Linked DNA regions of Homo sapiens: region 1 is linked to region 2. Evidence: promoter capture Hi-C in human tissues and cell types (Jung and others, 2019). All regions are on one chromosome and are shown on one strand. The core of a region is centred on a gene start or on the middle of the fragment in contact, and the rest is flanking DNA. Distances in the headings are between cores, read along the strand shown.

The links. Contacts are between HindIII fragments. The study calls those that stand out against the background at their distance.
Region 1: a fragment that was not itself captured here is called in contact with the fragment with the promoter of HEXIM2 in region 2 in 1 of the 25 tissues and cell types used here (dorsolateral prefrontal cortex).

Annotation. Positions count from the first base shown.
Region 1 is chr17:46,174,625-46,181,049 of GRCh38, reverse strand. All of the region lies in intron 1 of KANSL1 (KAT8 regulatory NSL complex subunit 1), which reads left to right. Among named protein-coding and RNA genes, the nearest start is that of KANSL1, 16 kb to the left of the region's middle. The HindIII fragment of the contact is 3,924 bases long and covers 1-3,790 here.
Region 2 is chr17:45,157,989-45,164,352 of GRCh38, reverse strand. It overlaps HEXIM2 (HEXIM P-TEFb complex subunit 2), which reads right to left and starts at 2,478. Exons shown (of 4, transcript NM_001303441.2): 1 at 2,322-2,478; 2 at 1,718-1,865; 3 at 1,494-1,603. The coding sequence starts at 1,559. It overlaps HEXIM2-AS1 (HEXIM2 antisense RNA 1), which reads left to right and starts at 2,815. Exons shown (of 3, transcript NR_186789.1): 1 at 2,815-2,892; 2 at 4,861-5,023. RefSeq lists enhancers at 2,239-2,368, 2,379-2,578, 1,996-2,611, 2,729-2,958, 2,612-3,227 and 1 more. The HindIII fragment of the contact is 41,438 bases long and covers 1-5,111 here.

The sequences.
Region 1 (6,425 bases), core at 579-3,078, 1.0 Mb before region 2:
GATTATTGTGGTAGCTTTTTTATTGGTCTTTGCCATCTATAGATGCCTTTTTACTTACTTTCAATCCATCCTACCCAACTGATCTCTCTAAAGCACAGTCTGATGTTTCACTCCCATTTAAAAAGTGTTTAATGATACTCTGCTGTCATTATTTTATATATACATATACATATATATGTGTGTGTATATATATATGTATATACTTTTTATTTTTCAGAGACTCGATCTCGCTATGTTGACCAGGCTGGTCTCAAACTCCTGGCCTCAAGCAATCCTTTTGCCTTGGCCTCCCAGAGTGCTGGGATTACATGTCTGAGCCGCTGCACCTGGCCTCTGCTGTCTTTGTTTGTTTGTTTTTGTTTTTGAGACAGAGCCTCTCTTTGTCGCCCTGGCTGAAATGCAGTGGCTCAATCTTAGCTCATTGCAGCCTCTGCCTCCTGGGTTCAAGTGATTCTCATGCCTCAGCCTCCCTAGTAGCTGGGACTACAGGCACCTGCCATCATGCCCGGCTAAATTTTTTATTTTTATTTTTATTATTTATTTCTTTTTTTGAGATGGAGTCTCACTTTTGTCACCCAGGCTGGAGTGCAATGGTGCGATCTCGGCTCACTGCAACCTCTGCCGCTCAGGTTTCAGCGATTCTCCTACCACAGCTTCCCGAGCAGCTGGGATTACAGGTGCCCGCCACCACACCCAGCTGATTTTTTTGTATTTTTATTAGAGGCGGGTTTTCACCACGTTGGCCAGGCTGGTTTCAAACTCCTGACCTCAGGTGATCCACCCGCCTCAGCCTCCCAAAGTGCGGGGATTGCAGGCGTGAGCCACTGTGCCTGGCCCCTCTACTGTCTTTAAGTCTGAATTAAGGCTATTAAAGGCTGTCCGTTAAGGATCTGGCTTCAAACTGCCTTTCCACCTTCATTCTACTATTTCCTCTATTAAAATATGCTTTGTGTTTTAAGCAAATTGTTAATTTTTTTTTTTTTTTAAGATGGAGTCTCGCTCTTGTTACCCAAGCTGGAGTGCAGTGGCCCGATCTCAGCTCACTGCAACCTCTGCCTCCTGGGTTCAAGCAATTATCCTGTCTCAGTCTTCCAAGTAGCTGGGAGTACAGGTGCGCGCCTCCACACCCGGCTAATTTTTGGTAATTTTAGTAGAGATGGGGTTTCGCCATGTTGGCCAGGCTGGTCTCCTGATCTCAGGTGATCTACCCGCCTCAGCCTCCCAAAGTCCTGGGATTATAGGCATGAGTCACTGCGCCCGGCCCAAATTGTTCATTTCTTTTAACCTTCAGAATGTCGCCTTTTCCCACACAGCGTTGCCTTTTCTTATGCCATTTCCTCTCACTAGAATGCCACATTACCATTCTCTTGTCCTAGCCTTTTGCATAATGACATTTTAGCTAATTTTCAAGTCTCAGCTAAAATTGCGGCAACTTCATGGACACTTCCCTAATCATCCTTCCTGCTGTTTCTTTCCGTCCTTTGTGTAGAGAAATGAGGTAATGGTGAAGGAAGAGGTTAGTAGAAGCCACATTATGGGCAAACTTTTCTTCCCCATCTGATTTTTGCTTTTGCTTTCAGTGCAAGTGTGGTTGTAATACTTGTTGGCCACCTGGATGACCTATTCCTTCCCCTTTGTTCTCTGCAGCTAAATATTTTTGCAAGGTGGATGCTTCCAGGTTATTCTTGTGTATCTGGAGTCTTGTCTTGGAAATTGACTGGGAATAAATGAGGTTTTCATTTGTGGGTGTGGAGTTAGTTCTGACTTACAGTATTTGAAGCAGCTGGATACGTTTTGCTTTTGAAAGAGTATATATATGTGTGTGTATAATCTTTAGGATATGGTTCTCTGTTGGGAGGTGTGATGTTGAACCCCCCAGCTCCCATATTTGACATGTCTGGAGACATTTTTGATTGTCATAATTTTCAGAAGGGCACTACTAGCATCTAGTGGGTGGAAAACAGAGATGTTGCTAAACATGCTACTGCCAGGATAGCCCCCTGTGATAGATTACTCATCGTGAGATGTCAGTTAGTGGTTAGGTTGAGAAACTCTATCCTAGAAGTATATTTTTGCTTCCCAAGTGCCACTTGTGTTAGGTAGAAGTTTGTCCTTGGACCGATGGTGCAATTTAGAATAATAGAATTAACATAGGAAGGGACCCTAGAGGTCACATATTTGAACTTTATCCCAACTTGTATTTCTCACAATGATGTTTCTGCTTGATATTAATAGATGTAATGGAAAAAGGTGCTTGTTAAAAAAGTTTGGTAAAGGTAAACATTTGCATATTCAGTATGATGCAATACGTTGTGAGTCTCCATCTGGGAAGTTTTTCCGAAATGTATTTGCTTGCTGAGTGCATTTAACATCTTCCAGACCCTAAAATACTTCTTTGAAACTGAGAGAGAAACTATTGATTATCTAGCCCAACCTTTTATAGCTAAATGACCTTGAATAGGTAGCCTTTTCTTTTATCTGTACAAGCTTACTGCAGAATCTCAATTTGTGTGAGTGACAGCAGGTGTAGCAGCTCCATCTGTATTTGTCAGATTATAGTTTACTAACTGAATGAACTAAAAATTGGGATATTTGGGGCTTGAATTTTTATTCTGAATGTACAGTCTGACTTTATCCCCACCGGTAAATTAGAAATTATAATCTCAGCCCTAATTCTACTGCCCAGGTTGTTATGAGGATTAATCAGTTAATTATAGCTTTTAAGGCTTTGTATTCTTTGGAGAAAGATGATTTATCAGATAGGCTGTTGTGCTGTTTGTGTAGAACTGCTTCCTTTTTTTGTTTTTCGTTTTTTTTTCCTTTAGCCCTGAGCTTCTCTAAGAACTGCTTAAATTTGACAGTCTTTCCCTGCTTTACATTGTCAAAGATTGAAGCTTTTTGAATTTTGTAGGGGTCAAGTGGGATAGGAATCATTGTTTTGCTCTGTATATTAAATTTAAGAATGTTACTATGGGCCGGGCGTGGTGGCTCATGCCTGTAATCCCAGCACTTTGGGAGGCCAAGGTGGGCAGATCACGAGGTCAGGAGATGGAGACCATCCTGGCTAACATGGTGAAACCCTGTCTCTACTAAAAATACAAAAAACTAGCTGGGCGTGGTGGCGGACGCCTGTAGTTCCAGCTACTGGGGAGGCTGAGGCAGGAGAATGGCGTGAACCCGGGAGGTGGAGCTTGCAGTGAGCTTAGATCACGCCACTGCTCTCCAGCCTGGGTGACAGAGCGAGACTCCATCTCTTAAAAAAAAAAAAAGAATGTTACTGTGATTTTGTTTTACTTAGTTATTGGCTCTTTAAGAATTTCCATTGTTTTCTTTTTGTTTCTCTCCATTTTATTATAGAAGTAATACATGTTTATGGTGGAGACTTTACATAAGCCAAGAAACAAAAGACAAAAGAATCTTAACCAATGACTTTTTAAAGCAAAATTGAGATGATACTGTGTTTTGTTTTGTAACTTTTTTTCATTTAATAATGAAGCAAGCACTTTTCTATGTTAGTAAATATAGCTCTGCCACACTTAGGGTTGCACAGTATTCCATTGTATGGATATTTAATAATTTAACCGAGTTTTTGGCATTCAGTTTTCTTTTTATTATAAACAACATCATGAAATATTAAAAGTAAGTCTAGACATAACAGGGAAAAGATTAAAGTACTAAACTTAGGTGGTGGTTTATGGCAATTGTAGCTAATTGCAAACTAGGTGCATTAAAAAGCCATGGAAATTCATTCCTTCTATGTTTCCTTTTTGTTTCCAGTGTAATAAAAGTGCAAATAATACTGGGTGGTTGCTCCAGGTACGTGGCCAAGTAATTGAAAGTATCTTATTTCATCATCATAGCATCCTTGTCGGGAAGGCTCTGTTACTTGTAGATGAGGAGACTTAAAGAACAGAATAGTTAAGTAACCTACAGGAGGTGGAGCCAGGATGGGAACTGAGATTTGCTCACTTGAGTCAGTGCTCCTCTTACTTATGAATATCTTTGGGAGTAATGTTGAATCTTAGCATAGTATTTCGAGTCAATAAAGGTATGTCAAGTCAATAAATGGTATTTCTTTGGTATAGAAATCTCAAGATTTAGGAATTAGGAATGGGAATTTTTTCGGAAAAAGTGGTCACTTTTTCCTGTTCTCTGCACTCTCTCTCCTCCCCCACCCCCTTACTTAGATGATTGTTTTAGTAACTACACTATGCTGTGTATCCTATGGGGATATTGAGACCAAGGATAAAGTGCAAATCAAATAAACTATTGTCTTTGAAGTGTATATGTTAATGTCAAGTTCATAGACATCATTTCAGAGAAGTCTTGGAGTAGATGGGATTTTTTTTTTTTTTTTTAAGATGGAGTCTTGCTCTTGTTGCCCCGGCTGGAGTGCAGTGGTGCAATCTTGGCTAATTGCAACCTCTGCTGCCTGGGTTCAGGTGATTCTCATGTCTCAGCCTCCCAGGTAGCTGGGATTACAGGCGCTCGCCGCCACACTCAGCTGATTTTTGTATTTTTAGTAGAGACAGGGTTTCACCATGTTGACCAGGCTGGTCTTGAACTCCTGACCTCAGGTGATACGCCTGCCTCGGCCTCCCAAAATGCTGGGATTACAGGCGTGAGCCACTGTGCCCAGCTGGAGTAGATGGGATTTAAGCCGGCATTTTTTCTTAAAGTTGTAAGCTTTAAAGAATTGAATAATCTCAGAATAACTTTGAGAAGTTTACTACTTAAGCACCTTCTGTGATGTGATGTTAATTATGACCCTCTTTTTCATTTGTGCTGGAGTGAGCCTGGGTTTTCCTAAGTTTTATGTAAGTCATAAAGCATATTTGTGCCCTTGCTTGGGTCCTCAGAGGGAAGCTGTTTCCTGCCCTTGCTAAGTCTTACTGTAGTGCTGTCAGGCAGTAGGGTACAATTACTCTTCACATGTTGTATTAATCATCTGGCACTGATAATATGCCTCCTTGCATTGCTCATATCAACTACATATTGACATTCAAAAGGGGAGGAGATTGAATTGATGGGAATTATCTGGTAGTGATTTTCGTTTGTCCATGGGAAAAACCCTTTGCATATTATAAAAGTGACTCAAAATATTTTTAACAACTATATTGGTCCAGCTGTCAACTGGTCTATAACACAATGTTTAATAACAGGAATTAGTACTGTCAACTGGTCTGTAACACAATGTTTAATAATATATTAGTAATTAGTATTATATTTAAAGTTAGAAATGGGAAAAGACAACATAGAATAATTTGTGCCACACAGAATGCCATATGCCAGAAAGCCCACAGGAGAAAACTACATAAGCCCTGAAAATCTAGTTCATAAAGAGTGTTGGTTAAAATACAACCCTGGAACAAGAAACTTTTGGTGTTAATAATTATATGAGGCCAGGCACAGTGGATCACACCTGTAATCCTAGCACTTTGGGATGCTGAGGCAAGCGGATCACCTGAGGTCAGGAGTTTGAGACCAGCTTGGCCAACGTGGTGAAACTCCATCTCCATTAAAAATACAAAAATTATCTGGGCATGGTGACACATGCCTGAAGTCCCAGCTACTCGGGAGGCTGAAGCAGGAGAATCACTCCAACACAGGAGGCGGAGGTTGCAGTGAGCCGAGATCACGCCACTGCACTCCAGCCTGGGCGACAGAGCGAGACTACATCTCAGAAACACACACACACACACACACACACACACACACACACACACACACACACACACAGCAATAAGACAGATTCGACCCATATGTATATTGGTGCTTTTATGAATAATGTTTTCTCAGTCATTTATTTGAGTATTTTTATGTTAATGATTCAAATTGTCATACTATAAAGAAGCTTACTGTGGTCCTGTAGGGCCTACCATCCTGTGTTGGTATTGCTCCAAAGATAAGCATTTTTGATTAAATTGGAGATTGCCCTCATTTGGGGCAGGGAGGGGGGTGCTTAGTCCAGTGATTTCACAAGCATTTTGGTCTCAGGACCCTTTTTTAACTCTTAAAATTTGTTGAGAACAGCAAATAAATTGTTTTTCTTATAAACTTTGAGAAATTTAAAAAATATTTAATAAGTAATTCAGGCTGGGCATGGCGGCTTATGCCTATAATCCCAGGAGTTTGGAAGGCTGAAGCTGGGAGTTTGATAGCAGCCTGGGCAACAAAATGAAATTCCATCTCTACAAAAATTCAAAAAATTAGCCGGGCATGGTGGCACACACCTATAGTCCCAGCTACTAGGAGGCTGATGCAGGAGGATCACTTGAGCCCAGGAGGTTGAGGCTTCAGTGAGCCATGATTGTGCCGCTGCACTCTAGCTTGGGTGACAGAGCTAGACCCTGTTTCAAAATAACAGCAACAAATAAATGATTTGTCTTGCACTTAAACTTTTTACCCATGCATGATTTCCTGAC
Region 2 (6,364 bases), core at 1,229-3,728:
CTCCCAACTAGCTGGGATTATAGAAATGTGCCACCACGCCTGGCTAATTTTGTATTTTTAGTAGAGATGGGGTTTCTCCATGTTGGTCAGGCTGGTCTCGAACTCGTGACCTCAGGTGATCCGCCCACCTCGGCCTCCCAAAGTGCTGGGATTACAGGCGTGAGCCACTGCACCCGGCTTCCAGCATTTTTTTTTTTTTGAGAGAGTTTTGTTCTTGTTGCCCAAGCTGGAGTGCAATGGCACAATCTCAGCTCACTGCAACTTCTGCCTCATGGGTTCAAGTGATTCTCCTGCTTCAGCCTCCTGAGTCGCTGGGATTACAGCCGCCTGTCATTACGCCCATCTAATTTTTGTATTTTTAGTAGAGACAGAGTTTCACCATGTTGGCCAGGCTGGTCTTGAACTCTTGACCTCAGGTGATCCACCCACCTCAGCCTCCAAAAGTGCTAGGATTACAGGCGTGAGCCACTGCGCCTGGCCTGTTTTTGTTTTTGTTTCTTTTTTGAGATGGAGTGTCACTCTGTCGCCCAGGCTAAAGTGCAGTGGTGTGATCTCAGCTCACTGCAACCTCTGCATCCTGGGTTCAAGTGATTCTGGTGCATCAGCCTCCTGAGTAGCTGGTATTACAGGCATGTGCCACCATGCCCAGCTAATTTTTGTATTTTTAGTAGAGATGAGGTTTCACCATGTTGGCCAGGCTGGTCTTGAACTTCTGGTCTCAAGTGAATTGCCTGCCTGGGTCCATTCCAAATTATGAACCAAAAACTCTTCTTCCTGCTTCAGACTTGGTTCTTAGCCTGGACAAAATGTAAACATTCAACCCAGTCCCTCCATGCCCTCTTTGGACTTGAGGTCAAGGCAATGTTCTGTTGTCAGAAGGCCCTAAGTTTAAACCCTGGGTCTGTTGCTTGTAGATAGCATGATTCTGGAACAGGTATTTCAGGTCTCAGAACCTTAGCTTCTGGGAATTGGAAATAATTCCTACCTGAAAGGGTTACTAGGATTTTTTTTTTTTTTTTTTTTTTTTGAGACGGAGTCTCGCTCTGACGCCCAGGCTGGAGTGCAATTGCGAGATCTTGGCTCACTGCAACCTCCGACCCCTGGGTTCAAGCGATTCTCCTGCCTCAACCTCCCAAGTAGCTGGGATCACAGGCATGCGCCACCACTATGCCAGGCTAATTTTGCATTTTCAGTACAGCCAGGGTTTTGCCATGTTGGTCAGGCTGGTCTCGAACTCCTGACCTCAGGTGATCCACCCACCTAGGCCTCCCAAAGTGCTGGGATTACAGGTGTGAGCCACCGCACCCGGCCAGTTACTAAGATTTCATCAGCTAGCATAGACTGGGATTCCGGCCTATTGCCTAGTGCATAGTACTGATTCGTCAAAATACTGGTTTTCCAAATCTACCAACACATCTGGGACAAGAAGTTTGGATCTCAGCTGTGGGACCCGTGCTCGTGGTGCTTGGGTGGGCAGGAGGGCAGGGACTTACCTTGGCCTCCTCCAGGGCCACTGGTGACTCTGCATTACAGGCGGTCTGGTTCGGAGTGGCCATCATCTTCTGTTCCAAATCTTTCAGCAGACGCCTGGAACTAGTGACACCTGCTTTGAACAACAACAGAAACCTAAATCCTGAAGGAACGTCAGGAATACTCTGGCTGCCCAGAATTGTTTGCCCAGGCAGTGGCAGCCATTTTGTACCCCAGCCCTTCATACCCTTATTCTCAAATGCAGGCCCCGAAGGCTGCCTCCACCGCTGGTTTTCACACCTCCAGCCAGCAAGGGGCCAAATGGGATTCAGGGGCCGTCTTCTCTGTCCTGCTCCTCGGGTCCCTCACCAGGACTCATGTCCTGTACTGTCCTCCTGGAAGTCACCGAGGCCCAGGTTGGCAGCCAGGAAGCCAGGTGTAAGTTTTGTTTCCCCAACCACCAAAGGGGCAAAGGAGGACTGCCTGGGGAGGCTGGGAGTGCAGCGGGGCTGCTGCTGCCACGGGAGAACATGGAGCAAGCTCACGAGTCCTTCCCCACTGTCTCCAGTGGCCCCAATCTTGATGCAGCCCTGCACCCCCAACCTTCTCCCCAAGCTGGGCTCCAAAGGCCAGAAGCACAGCTGGGACCTGGGCCAGCCTAGTGCTGAGGACTTTTCCTCTAAGGTCCTGGCCTGCCTCCCTCCTTCCTCTCAGAAAGGGAAACAGGAGAAAAGGGGAAAGAGGTCTTTGCACTACATGCAGCTGGGAGGGAAACCCAACTAGGATAAGGATGGATTTCTTGGAAGAAGGGAGACAGTCATGGAAAGAGGTTTTGCAAAGGTGGAACTGACCTATTCGCTGTCAAGGGCTATGCACACCACTACATCTGTGTGCCTTTCTGTGCGACTGCCTGTCGGTGCAATTCCCAACGCCTGAGCCCTACCTCTTGCTGCAGTTGCAGCAGCTCTGGTCAAGCCGCTCAGGCCACTAAGATGGGGGGGAAGAGAGAGCCTGGACGCGCGGTGCCTGCTGGGGATTGTAGTTCTTCTGGCCTGAAAAGCGATCCAAGGGCCTGTAACGTCAACAGCCACACCCGAGACTCCAAAACCCATCTACCCTTGCGCGGGGGCAGACCGCGCGCGCATCACTGCCTTCTTTGATTGGTCAAGCCTTCTGCCAATATTCTCGCTTTTTTGGCAACGATTAGCTGTGAGGAGGCACAACTGGACCCGCCTTCTCCGAACTCAATTAAAGAGTTCATTGATGGCGTTAATCTTTACGGGGCAGAAAATAGATCCGGCTAAGGTGGGCGGGGCAGCAGGCGCGGAGGGATCCTTGGCCTTTGAGGAAGGCGACGAGAAGCTCGGCGGCCATCGCCGCCATTTTGGGCTGGGAGGAGGCAGCGGAGGGACTCGCTGCGCAGTGAGAGCACCCCGTGGGGGGTGGTCCGGGCGCGGGGAGAGGCCGGGCCGAGTGGGCTACCTGAAGTGGCGGCGCCGGGAGACGGCGGGAAGTGGGACCGGGGGCCAGGGAGGGTGAAGGTTGGAGTCTCCTCGGCCGAGCCCGGTCCTCAAACCGTCCCGGCAGCCCCGCAGCCTCGCCTCTCACAGAGTGCGGGGTTCTTCGGTAATTACCGCGTGTTTCCCGAGACCCCAGAAGGGGAGAGGCTGGTGAAACGGCTTCCCTCTGCGGTCTTTCCACAGGGGCGCGGATCCTGAGGCCGAGCTCTGCCAGCTTCCCTCCCCACCCCCATTCGGCCTGGGTATGGCGGCGAGGCCCCGCACAGAGGGACTCCCACTTCGACTGGAGAGGTGGGGGCGACGCCAGATTCCAGAGGCTGGCGCCGCGGGGGAGGGCGGAGGTCGCAGGTCTGGCCACAAGTCGGCGTGGCAGTCAGCTGGAGGCTCCGAGAGCGGAGATCCCAGTGCACCCACCTTACCTCGCTTACACCAAAGCGCCATCTCGCCGCCCGGGTTGCGAAAAACCACGACCCTCTTAAACTACTGTAGCAACCACTAATTCCCCCTGGGAGCAGCTAGAGAGGGGCACTTGGAAACCTTCACGAGCTCGGTGCCTGAAGGTCTCTGAGGCTCTTGCCCTCAAGATCTCTCCCATTCAGCCCCGATTCTCCGGACAACCTGACCTAGCATGTCGCCAGCCTCTTGGTGAAACGCCTAAAGTGTGCTGCCCCACTTCTCTTGAAAGTTTACACCGAAGGGATGAGGTTTTGCCCTTTACAGGGTTGGGGCACAAAGTCGGAGTCGCTGCGGCTCCGAAATAGAAACGGAGTTGCCCATTTCGTATGCTTCATCAACATCTGCTTGCATTTTGAAATCCTAGTCTTAACTTTTACACAACTTTTAGAGAAATGGCTGCCCTCCTAGAGGGAAAAACGAACTACAGTAATTCCAATTCCAATGTAATCTTTGTAAGACTACAAAATCTTTCCAGTTTAAAGATTTTTCTTTTCCCACAGACTAAACAAAGTCAGAGTATTTTGTGTTCTACTGGTGCATTGTTACTAGGTAACCTCAATTTTTTGAAATTCCAAGTAATTGAAGGATCACTTTTGTAGATCCTAAATGCTACCAAAAAAGAAACCAGTTTTTATCTACTTCATATGTATAGCGTTTAAGAGATGAGGAGACCTGCTTTGAAAGAATAAACTCTTAACCTTACATTATAGCTGTAGCAGCTTCTTAAAGATTGAAGTTTGATGTGAAGTTCTTTTATTGAATTGCAGGTTAAACCATCTTACTTCCTACTGCTTGAAATCTAAATCCAGAGAGATTTGTGGCTCAAGGATATCTTCAAATAAAAGTTTTATTGCTAAAATGTCAGTTAAAATTATGCCTAGGTAGGTGCTGAAGTAGGAGAGGCTTTGACGTAGCAGAGTGACTGGCAGTGAATTTTGTGGGTACCTTGTGATGAGTCTTATTATCAGTTACAAATGGTCAAAACATGCCTAAGCCTTCAGCCTTACTAAAAGTTTAACAGAACTTGGCCTGGCGCGGTGGCTCACACCTGTAATCCCAGCCCTTTGGGAGGTGGAGGCGGGTGGATCACCTGAGGTCAGGAGTTTGAGACCAACCTGGCCAACATGGTGAAGCCCCTTCTCTACTAAAAATACAAAATTAGCCGGGTGTGGAGTTGCGTGCCTGTAATCCCAGCTACTCGGGAGGCTGAGGCAGGAGAATCGCTTGAACCCAGGAGGCAGAGTTTGCCATGAGCCTCTCACCGTTGCACTCCAGCCTGGGTGACAGAGTAAGACTCTGTCTCAAAAAAAAAAAAAAGTTTTCCAGAACTGAAGTTCTGCTCCTCCTATTAATAATTTTTCTTCAGTTGGAGTGACAACTCCATAGCATTAACTTTTTTCCCTCTGCTCCCCAGATGTTTTACAACTGGATTACAAAATAGGATCATCATTGACTAGGGTCCTCAATCCAAAACTGGAACCACTTACTCCTAACTGAAGCTTCAGTACACTTGATGCCTACTGTGGTTTGATTTTTTACCTACATATGACATGTTCGCTCTACACTGATCAAGAGATGTGAGTTTAAAAAAGCTAACTAACTTGGTAGGACTTAAATAGTCATAGGAACAGAAAAGGCTTTTAAAGACGATCTTTGTGGGTCTTCTGTCAAGAATTTAATGGAGGATCCTAGACACTTGGGATTCATCCTCCATTATGAAGTAATCTAGTGAAATTTTTGGATGCTACTGAGTGGCAAATACTGTACCAGCAGCAGAAATTTGTTACTCATTTGTAAATGAAACTTACTATCCTTAAGGTTGACCCACAAGCTTTTCCATTCTTTGCTAAGAAAAATTGGGAATAGGCCGGGCACAGTGGCTCACGCCTGTAATCCCAGCACTTTGGGAGGCCAAGGCGGGCAGATCACGAGGTCAAGAGATTGAGACCGTCCTGGCAGACATGGTGAAACCCCATCTCTACTAAAAATACAAAAATTAGCTGAGTGTGGTGGTGTGCACCTGTAGTCACAGCTACTTGGGAAGCTGAGGCAGGAGAATTGCTTGAACCCCGGGGCTGGAGGTTGCAGTGAGCCGAGATCGTGCCACTGCACTCCAGCCTGGGTGACAGAGCAAGATTCTGTCTCAAAAAAAAAAAAAGAAAAAATGGGAATAAAACCAGCTTATTAGTGGCCTCCTGGTTATCTAAGGAAAACACAGGACTGTAGGACTGAAAATTAGGAACTCCGAGCTCTGTTTCTGTGTGTGCTGCCCTTAACTTGGTTGACTTGGCCAGAGGCCAAATACTGATAATGAGGCCAAACTGGTCATTTTGCTGCTTAGTCTATTGTTCATCTACTGTTCAACCAGACTTTCAACTTCCTTTTCAGCTCTCCCCTCTCAGATGAGTTGCATTATGCTTTTATGACAAATTCTACAAACTCTATATTCATTTGAAAATGGTATCAGCACTGTCTCCCTCATAAATACCTAGAGGAGTAACTAGTCTTAAGTCGCTATGTAAACACTTACTCCTTGTAACTTTGTTATATGAGAACTTCACAAGGAATGCTTCAAAGATCATTGGGGCAGTTGGAAAGCCTGCCTTACCAAAGTGTGGCCTTAGTTGTCCATAGCATCACAAAAGAGCCATCCAAGTAGGCTGAATGAGGATCAGTCTCTCAGGGTGCCCACTGGTTGTGGCTGTGAAGTCCTGGACACTCATTTTGCCTGATGGCCAAATCCTAGGGAGCAGTGACTATGTGTGAGTAGGATTCGTTGACAGAGGTAGGAGGTTTTTTTTTTGTTTTTTTTTCCTGCTGCCTGTATAATTGCAGAAAAGGAGTGATTCTTTACAGTAATTCCCCCTCTTCGGGATGAAGATGCTTGCTTCTGTTTGGTTTCCACAGTTAAATCAATT